2 separate regions of the Homo sapiens genome follow, and region 2 is linked to region 1. The links are contacts of gene promoters, found by promoter capture Hi-C in human tissues and cell types (Jung and others, 2019). All regions are on one chromosome and are shown on one strand. Each heading gives the region's core, a stretch centred on a gene start or on the middle of the fragment in contact. The rest is flanking DNA. Distances are from core to core; before and after follow the strand shown.

What was found. The method cuts DNA at HindIII sites, captures the fragments that hold promoters and counts their contacts. A contact is called where the count stands out against the background at its distance.
Region 2: a contact is called between a fragment that was not itself captured here and the fragment with the promoter of VLDLR in region 1, in 2 of the 25 tissues and cell types used here (bladder and heart right ventricle).

The regions. Positions count from the first base shown.
Region 1 is chr9:2,618,668-2,623,788 of GRCh38, forward strand. VLDLR (very low density lipoprotein receptor) reads left to right here and starts at 3,120. Exons shown (of 19, transcript NM_003383.5): 1 at 3,120-3,604. The coding sequence starts at 3,523. VLDLR-AS1 (VLDLR antisense RNA 1) reads right to left here and starts at 3,706. Exons shown (of 4, transcript NR_015375.2): 1 at 3,433-3,706. RefSeq lists an enhancer at 2,662-2,956 and silencers at 2,835-2,914, 3,525-3,794, 4,065-4,154, 4,165-4,254. The HindIII fragment of the contact is 11,914 bases long and covers 1-5,121 here.
Region 2 is chr9:2,763,518-2,768,638 of GRCh38, forward strand. No RefSeq gene overlaps it. Among named protein-coding and RNA genes, the nearest start is that of KCNV2, 49 kb to the left of the region's middle. The HindIII fragment of the contact is 8,925 bases long and covers 1-5,121 here.

The DNA of each region.
Region 1 (5,121 bases), core at 1,870-4,369:
TGTAAAACTCTTTTTAAATGTAAAGATCACTCTTATTTGTAGGCCATACAAAAGCAGGTGACTGGCTAGACTTGGCCCATGAGCCCTAGTTTGCTAACCTCTACTCTATGTGACCAGTGCTAAAGACACATAGACAGCAGGGAACTACTCACATGGGTAGTTCTAAATGAATCGAATCACTCGGAGACCTGGGCTAATGCAGCAGCCACCTCTTAAACATTTCTTGTCACCACGCAGACACAAAGAGAGGGTTTCACATAAGCAATTAAGTGCTCCGGTCTGAAAGTGGCACCCTGTAACTTAGGCTCACAAATAATTAGCCAAAGTTAGTCTTTCGACCCCATCCAACCATAAGGGGGCCAGGACGTCCAATCCTACCATGTGTCCAGAAGTAGGGAGAATTCAGATCACCGGGTAAAAATTATGAAAAAAGCTCAGAGACAAACGCTCTGTGAAGCCTTTTCTGATACCTTCATCCTGCAGCCAGAATAGCTGCTTCTTCCTTGCAATCTTCTAGCACTTTAAGCATCTCTTAATCAGAGTGCTATACATAGGGTACTACAGTTGCCCACTTGCCTGCCTCCCCTACCAGATGCTGAGCTTCCTAGATAAGCACTTCTGTATGCCCACTACTTTGCACAGTGCCCGTTAGCCAGGGATGCTCACTATGTGTTGCTTCAACAAATAAATGAATGTGGTGGATTGTAGGAGTGAATGGGATTGCCTCTGCATTTACCTGACGGCGTCGGGAATCCAGCAGTGTCAACTTCTCTGAACCCAGTTAGTTCAACCATTTCAGTCTCCACTTATGATCAATTAGCTCTGTTAGTTCAACCACTTCAATATCCACTTATCATCAATTTATCTTTTTAGTTATTAGCTACTTTCTATCATAATCCAATGAATTTCTCCATACAACCTTTTTCTTCTAATAAACAACACCTTGCAGAGAGCTGGTCCTTGAGGCCACGGAGCACTTTGATATAATGTGGCTTGGCTTTCTTTTCAGTTTACAGGCCAAAAGGCAGACACAGAGAGGCACAGTGATTTTTCCCAAGTTACACAGTCAATCAGAGATGGAGCCAAAAGTTATGCTTTCTTTTGAGTCAACAAAAAAGCTACAGGATTGAATACAGAGCTGCAGCTAAGTTCACTGAAAGTTTATTTATATCCCTTGGAGAATTAGAAAGTACTCACACACGTTTTTCAAAGTTAAGTCTTATTATACCATATCAATGTATAGCTTGTAGTATACCTGTATCTCTGAGTAAAGTATTAAAAACAAGTCATATGACTGTTTATTAATGCTGCCTCTTTTTGTATTGATTCCACCCATCCCTTCTACTCCTTTCCTCTTCTGTAAAGCAGTAGCTCATCAGATGGCATTTCAGAACCCTGAGAATATGAAAGACATCATGCACTAAGGTTTTCCTATCACATCTCAATGCCATTAGGTGAATAACACCGGCATGCATCTTCACTACTAAATGTCATACAAACAAATTTCAGTTGTTTCACATGCAACCTGTGTGGCTGCTGCAGTTTGTATCAACTATGTAACCACAGGGTGGGCAAAATAGCATTCAAAATGAGCTATAGTGCAAGATACCATCCATACGTAGAGTTAAGCCCTTTCATGCTTAGCAGTCACAATCAGGATATCTTTGGCCCACAGAAACCTATCCTGACTGGAATTTTCCTCTCCTGTGTGTCTCCTGGATATAGTAAGTTCCTAATAAACATCTCCTCTGATTGCTAGCCTTGACAAATTTCCAGGAGAACCAGGGCAAGGAGAAGACAGTGAGGCAGTGCCCGCTGCTCTTCAGATCACCAACAGAATAGAGTCAGAATATGATATTATTGAAACCTTCCAAGTTTGAATTAAGATAAAAACAACTTTTTCAAAATACCAAAAACCTTTTATTTAAGAAAGTGAAATCGCTCGATGTGCCCTCCCACTCTGGTTAGATGCTCAACAGACCACAGCAGACAATGCACCTCAACCAGGGCTAAGTGTGCAAGAAAACTGAAGTACACAAAAAGCAAATTATAGACTCAGGTACTGTCAGGCACAAAAGAAGAACCAACCCTTTCTAGGAGTCTTGTCTTTGCTTCCTTTATTCTTTCCTCGATTCTTGTAATTGAATGTTACAAAGTATATCAAGAGGAATAAACGTATGGGGCCCCTCTCTTCCAAACAAGAAAAGGTTAAGCTTTTAATTACAGGCCCTCAAACTATCATTTTGTGCAATTAGCAATTAACTATAATCGTTGATGAGCAAATGCAAAGCTGCGCTAGCAATTTCCCTTCTCCTCATCCCAGGCTGGGTTATTTCAGTCTTGTTCTATTACAGAGGACCAGCCACAACCGCGCGCACTCTCTTTCAAACATACACACTCTCTCACTTAAAGACACATTTAGTTTTCGGCAAAACGGCATCTCAGCGTGCGATTGAGACCGGCATCCCAAACCCCACTTTTGAGCAGCCCAAACGTTTGGAGCCCCTCCGCTTCATCACTTTCTGAGTGGATAGAGGAGGCCCGAAGAAGATGCTACCTACCAGCCTCTCTCAGGGGCGCAGGAGAGGGTGGTAGAGAGATGCTTGTTGCCCCTGGAAACTGCAAGTACCCCCCAGGTGCACGCCCCGTCAGTGGGGAGGCGGTGGCAACAGCAACGATAGTTGCATCAGCGCTAACTGCTGCTGCTGCTGCGTGTTCTGCCGGAGGCTGCCGGGAGGGTACAGTAATGACTGTAGGGAGCGCACAGCCGCTGCGGCGGCAGGTTCCCTGGATCAGGAAATTAGGACAGGCACCCGGGATTGGAGGCGAGGGCGGCGCGCGAGCCAACCAGCGGTCGCCCCGGGCCCCCGTGAGCCCCAGGCGAACGCGCGGAGCAGCCGGGCCCCTAGAGCGGTCCGGGTGGCGGCGGCGGCAGCCACGACCACGACCGCGGTCACTCACGCACGCTCACACTCGCACGCTCCCCGCGCGGGCACCCGGCTGCCCGGCGCGTGCAAGAGGAGCGCGTCGAGGGAAAGGAGGGCCGAAGCCGCCGCGCTCCCGCCCGCCCGCCGCGCCTCCCGTTGACCACGCCCCCTCCGGCCCCCTCCCCGCTGCTCACCCCGCTCTCCGGCCGCCGCCGGTGCGGGTGCTCCGCTACCGGCTCCTCTCCGTTCTGTGCTCTCTTCTGCTCTCGGCTCCCCACCCCCTCTCCCTTCCCTCCTCTCCCCTTGCCTCCCCTCCTCTGCAGCGCCTGCATTATTTTCTGCCCGCAGGCTCGGCTTGCACTGCTGCTGCAGCCCGGGGAGGTGGCTGGGTGGGTGGGGAGGAGACTGTGCAAGTTGTAGGGGAGGGGGTGCCCTCTTCTTCCCCGCTCCCTTCCCCCGCCAACTCCTTCCCCTCCTTCTCCCCCTTTCCCCTCCCCGCCCCCACCTTCTTCCTCCTTTCGGAAGGACTGGTAACTTGTCGTGCGGAGCGAACGGCGGCGGCGGCGGCGGCGGCGGCACCATCCAGGCGGGCACCATGGGCACGTCCGCGCTCTGGGCGCTCTGGCTGCTGCTCGCGCTGTGCTGGGCGCCCCGGGAGAGCGGCGCCACCGGAACCGGTGAGTGAGGACGCGCCCCTCCGCCGGCGGGCGGGACCCAGCCGGGGCACCGGGAGACCCCGAGGCGTAGGTCTCCGTTTGCCCACCCGCCTCCTAGGAGGCGCCTCTCGGTTCTCCTCGCCTTCCCTCCCTCCCCTCCGTGGTGGCGCCTCTGAGCTGTCAGCGCCGAGGCTAAAGGGAGCCGGGCTTGGGGAACAGCGGGGTTCGGGGTGCCCCGACGCCTCGCCTGAACTAGTCTTCTGCCCCTCACTCCGCCTCCCCCAGAGCCGCTGCTTCGCCTCGTTTCTCGCCCTCTTGACGGGCGCCGAGGTGCGTGGGCTTCTGAGCATTGAACAATGGTTCTGCCTCCTCTGCCAGGCGCAGTGTTGGGAAGGAGGCAGAGGGCCAAGACGTGTGCGGCAGCCTCGGGCGCACCCTCGAACCCCGGGGAGTGCGGGAGCGGACGGGGGGAGAAGGTGAGCGCCTCCGGGGACGCGGAGCGCCAGGGGCCGGCCGGGCTTCAGAGTCTTCCGGCGGCCGCGAGCTGGCGCACGTTCGGTGGGCGGCGGCCGGGAGGCTCCGCGGAGCCGAGGGCACCCGGACTGCGACTCCCCCGGCGCGGGGCCGCCTCTCCGGCGTGCGGGGTAGGGGAGCGGCGGGGCTTTACGCAGGACTCTGCTCTGGGCGCTTCTCCTCTCCCTTTTCCCCGCCTCGGGCGGCGTTTGGAAACCGCTCGGGTCTCCCGTGTAGCTGAACGCGGAGGGGGAGTGGAGGGGAGACTTAATCAGGTTAGTTTGCTGACCCTCCTTCCCGGTGACGTTTCCTCGAGAGGAATTGAGTCCTAGGCTAGTGACTGTAATTAGCCTTCATTCTACACAATAGCTCAAAGGAGCAGCGCGAGAGCGAGCGTGTGGCCCTGTCTTGTTGGGAAGGGCGGCGGTGACTACTGTCGGGTCCCCAGACTCTGCCGCGGGGGCCTGGGGGCCCCGCCTGGTCGTCAGCCACGTTCCCACTTGGGGCCTCGTAACTTTCCTGGACAGGCGACAGGAAGCCTTTCTGAGAGGACTCAGTCGGAATCCTAGCGCGTCCCCGAAGTGATCTTCAGATGTGACGCCGAGGGGCTTGCTTGCCAGCTGCAGGGAATTGGGACTGAAAGCCGCCCAGGCCCTTAACACCCGTTCCAGAGTCCCTGGCTCCCGTCGCCGGGTGGCTTCAGGGGCCCTGCCGGCCTGCAGTCACGTGCTCCTGAAGTGAGAGCGAACTTTAAAGCATGTGGTCAAGGAGCCTGTCGGGCAGCGCCTGGGGTTTTTACGTCTCCGAATGCCCCTGCCCTTTGGTTGCCACTGTCCGGAGCGTGTGAACTGGGACTGGCCTTTCCGCCCTCTGCGATTGGTTAGCGGTGCGATCACGTTTAGGTTGGTCACATGGTTCCGCGGACTCTTAAGTGGGCAGCATGGGCAGTGTTATTTTCAATGGAAAGTAGGAGACTCCACAGGCTCTTACGGGCTGTTCTCTCAAATGCCTTCCCCTGCCTGGAC
Region 2 (5,121 bases), core at 742-3,241, 140 kb after region 1:
CATAAACCTAATTCCTGCCAAACCTAGCTTGGCTTATGCCCAGGAATGACCAAGGACAACTTGGAGGTTAGAATCAAGATGGAGTAACTATGTCAGATTTCTCTTACTGTCAAAATTTTGCAAAGGCGTTTTCACTTCTGGCACCCAAATCTGCAAATGAGGGGAGTTGGGCTGACTAGCATATCTCTAAGGACCCTGGGATTCAAAATTATATGTGGATGGGTGCTTTCTGTGTATATGCCCTTATTGTTCCTTAAAAAAAATAATGGTGTTGCAAACTCACATCTCACCATACATTCCCGGGAAAATCAGCCAAATCCAGAATAAATGTGCATGATCCTTGCCAGCTGAAAAAGGATTAAAAAGAGAGAAAACACCTGGCACAGGCCCTTGAAATACTTTTGCTCAAGTCTATTAAACAAGGCACAAATAACACTTGAGATTGCGATAATCTAATAATCTTTTTGTGAACACTATAGCTAAAGATAGATATGAGCAGGGGCTTCATCAAGAAAGGAGGGCAAGGCTGGGCGTGGTGACTCATGCCTGTAATTCTAGCATTTTGGGAGGCTGAGATGGGTGGATCACCTGAGGTCAGGGGTTTGAGGCCAGCCTCGCCAACATGGTGAAACCCTGACTCTATAAAAATGCAAAAATTAGCCAGGCATGGTGGCAGGTGCCTGTTATCCCACCTACTTGGAAGCCTGAGGGAGGTGAATCACTTGAACCCAGGAGGTGGAGGTTGCAGTGGGCACTATTGCACTCTAGCCTGAGTGACAGAGTGAGACTCCATCTCAAAAAAAAAAAAAAAAAAAAAAAAGAGAAACAAAAGAAAGGAGGACAATGCACTCATATTCTCAGACCGCTTCATTATAGAGTTCTTATTACCAGCATAACATTGCCTGCCACTGACTCAGAGTCACACGTCTCTGCTCCACAAAGAAAGAAGCTGTCCTTGCCGTGGGTGACAGCCATTGAGAACTACAGACTTCTCTCCTGCTTGAGAGAAATGCGGCACAGGAAACAGCAAGAATAATTCTGATCAGTGGTTGTCAGGCAGTTTTGTAACTTACAAAGTATTTTCCCTTGTAGAGTTTGGTTCATCTAAGATCATGGAAACAGGAAGTGGCAAACTCCACAGTAGCCACAGACAGGAGCTATGACCAGGGCCTCATATGATGCTCACAGCAGTAAGGCTTGGCTCTATATACCAACACAGGTATATAATAAAAGGAAATTAAAATATTTTATCCTAGGCCAGGCGTGGTGGCTCATGCCTGTAATCCTAGCACTTTGGGAGGGCAAGCTGGGCAGATCACTTGAGGTCAGGGGTTCAACACAAGCCTGGCCAATATGGTAAAACCCCATCTCTACCAACAATACAAAAATTAGCTGGGCATGACGGTGCATGCCTGTAATCCCAGCTACTAGGGAGGCTGAAGCACGAGAATCACTTGAACCCGGGAGGCGTAGGTTGCAGTGAGCCGAGACTGCGCCACTGCACTCCAGCCTGGGCGACAGAGCAAGACGCTGTCTCAAAATAAATAAATAAATAAAATAAATAAAAAAAAATATTTTATCCCAAAACCTATTTCTGTGACGTATTTTAAAAGGGCTATCACTTGGCCTATCACTTCTGACAGAAGTGGATTTGCAAAGCTGCCTTAAGTGGGGAAAATTTGCATCTATAGAGAACCTTCATTACTGTAACCACGCCCCCTCCCCTTTCTATACCTTCCCCGCTCCAGGAAAGATTGAGAGTCTGACACCTTTTAAAGTCTTAAAATAAACATTTACCATCTATTTTCTTTGGGGAAGGTTTCATCTATGTAACAAGGCCATCTTTGCTAGCCAAGCTTCTTCCTTTCTGTCTCTCTTCACATGTCTTGCCACTAAACCTGACTGACCTGTTTCTGGCCATGCTCTGAGTCTGCATTCTTTACTGTGGCCTCAGTATGGCATATAAGTTTCTGTTACTCACTGGGAAGTTGGCCTTTTCATTTTGAAGCCTCCTGTGTATATACATGTCTTACTCTATTCTTGCATTGCTATAAATACTGGAGACATGGTAATTTATAAAAAAAAGAGGTTTAATTGGCTCATGGTTGTGCAGACTGTACAGGAAGCAGGATGTTGGTATCTGCTCAACTTCTGCTCAGGAAACTTAGAATCACCGTGGAAGGCAAAGGGAGCAGCAGGCACTTCACATGGCCAGAGCAGCAGCAAGAAAGCAAGTGAGGAGGTGCCACACACTTTTAAACGATCAGATCTCATGAGAACACACTCTCTATTGCGAGGACAGTACCAAGAGGGATAGTACTAAACCACTCATGAGAAAACTGCCCCCATGATCCAATCACTTCCCACCAGGCCTCACCTCCAACACTGGGGATTACATTTCAATGAGATTTGGGTAACGACACACATCCAAACTATATCAACATGTTAAATAAATTTGTATACCTTTTCTCCTATTAATCAATCCGCTTTATGTCAGTGATTTTCAGCGAGCCTTTAGGAGGCCAAGAGCCTATGGCCCCCACAATACCACTACAGTACATACAGGCACTATATACCAGGAATTATAAATTTACACGTGTCTTCCTACATGATTGCATTTGATGCTTACATTCCTATTACTTGCAACAAAGTATCTCACCTAATAAAATAATGGAAAAGGTCTATTCCCTTGCCCTAACTACTTTTCTCACACACACGCAAAATAACAGTCCTGGCGGGGCACTGTGGCTCGGGCCTATAATCTCAGCATTTTAGGAGACCGAGGCAGGCGTATCACTTAAGGTCAGGAGTTCGAGACCAGCCTGGCCAATATGGTGAAAACCTGTCTCTACTAAAAATACAAAAATTAGCCAGGCGTGGTGGCGCATGCCCATAATCCCAGCTACTTGGGCGGCTGAGGCAGGAGAACTGCTTGAACCTGAGAGACGGAGGCTGCAGAGAGCCAAGATCATGCCACTGTACTCTAGCCTGGGCAACAGAGTGAGACTCTGTCTCAAAAAACAAAACAAAAACAACAACAACAAAACAGTTCTGCTGGACAAATGGAGTTTGTATTATTTATCATATTATGTATTGGAGAATCTCCACACGGTATGAACCCTCTTAGGTAGATAAGCAGGGCAAGAATTATTATCTCTATTTTGTAACGAGAAAATATTACTCTGAAAAAAATAAAAAGAATTTAACCTGTAATCTTTGCATTACACTCTATACATGCTGCTATGTCTCTATACATGCTGCTAGTATTAGGGAAGTTTAACCTCAAAAAGTTTCCCAGAGTTAGGTAAAACGGTCATAAATTTGATGTGGAAAAATAATTGCTTCAGTATAGTCAAGGAAGACAACTAGGAAATATAAAATAATGGGGAAAAGGTGTGGCTCTGAAATCAAATTAAAAATATTTGTATGATAATCAATAAACATACTAGTGGAACTGAACAGATAATCTAGAAATAGATCCTAGTTTATGTGAGAATATATCATAAAATTAATAGTTCAGTTCGATGGGGGAAATCATGGATTTTTGAATAACTAGTACCTGCACAATTGGCTATTAATATGGAAGAAAATTAAACTCTGTAACGTATACCTTCATACACACACTAACATCCAATTTTAGAAGATTAAATACCTAAATGTCAATACTTGTTGACTAAATAATGACAAATTGAAATAAAAACTCACACACAAAAAATCAGAATGACTACATGTATAACAGAGATAGGGAAGGCTTTCCCAATCAAAATTTAAATCTAAAAACTCTAAGAGGGAAGATGAGCTTTTTATGATAAAAGATAATATATCATAAACAAATGATATATTGGGAAAAATATATTTATAATGCTCATCAGGTAAAAGATAAGTATCTCAAATAAACAAAAAAACCTACACTTTTTAAAGAAAAGGACAACTCAAGAGAAAAATAGGAAAAGGATACAAATAAACAGTTCACAGATAAACACCTCCAAATTGCCAGCAAAACATATGAGAAAATGCTCAAAGTCAAGGACACGTAATACCTTGTCAAGGACAAGATATCCTTTTATATCTATCAGACTGAAAAAAATTGAAGAGAGCTATAATATTCATTGCTGGCAGCGATGTGGGGGGAAAAGGACACTGTTTTACACTGATGATTTTTTAAAAAGGAACTTTGTTTTTTTTCTTTTTTTTTGGCAGAGCCTCATTCTGCCACCCAGGCTGGGGTACAGTGGCACATTCCCAGCTCTCTGCAACCTCCACCTACCAGGCTCAATCAATCCTCCCCTCTCAGCTTCTTGAGTAGCTAGGACTACAGGCATGTACCACCATGCCCGGCTAATTTTTGTATTTTTTGTAGAGATGGGGTCTCCCTATGTTGCTCAGGCTGGTCTTGAACTTCTGGGCTTAAATGATCTACCTGCCTCAGCCTCCCAAAGTGCTGGGATCACATGAGTAAGCCACTGAGCCCGGCCATGACTTGCTAAAAAAATATTTGGAAAGCAATCTTGGAACTTCCACTAAAATTTAAATATACATGTCCTTTGACTCAATAGTTTTACTCTTGGCATTCTATCCCATAAAAATAAAATCACTAGTGTGATGGAATACATAAAAATGTTAATGGCAGCATTCATTTATTCAACACATTTTATTCAACGGCTATTTTATGCCTGACACTCTTTCAGGAGCTAGAGAACAACAAAAAGATTCTTGCTGGGTAAATCTTGTTGGGGGAGGTAGACATGAATAATCTTAATAAGTAAATAAATACACCCTAGTATATTAGAAACAGATAAGTGTTTAAAAACAAGCAAGAGCACAGTAAGGGGAATCAGCAGAGCTGAGATGATAGGGCAGGGGTGTGAGTTGCAATTTCAGATAGGTGGGTGTCCTACTCAGCTGGGGCTGCTATAACAAATTACCATAGACTAGATGGCTTAGACAACAAATGTTTATTTCTCAGAGTTCTGTATGCTGGGAAGTCCAAGGTCAAGGGGCCGGCCAATTCCGGTCCTGGTGAAGAAGGTCCACTTCCTGGTTTGCAGAAGGGTGTGGTAGTGTATATTGACAGGGTAGATAGAAGAAGCAAGCTCTCTCCCGTCTCTTCTTAGAAGGGTA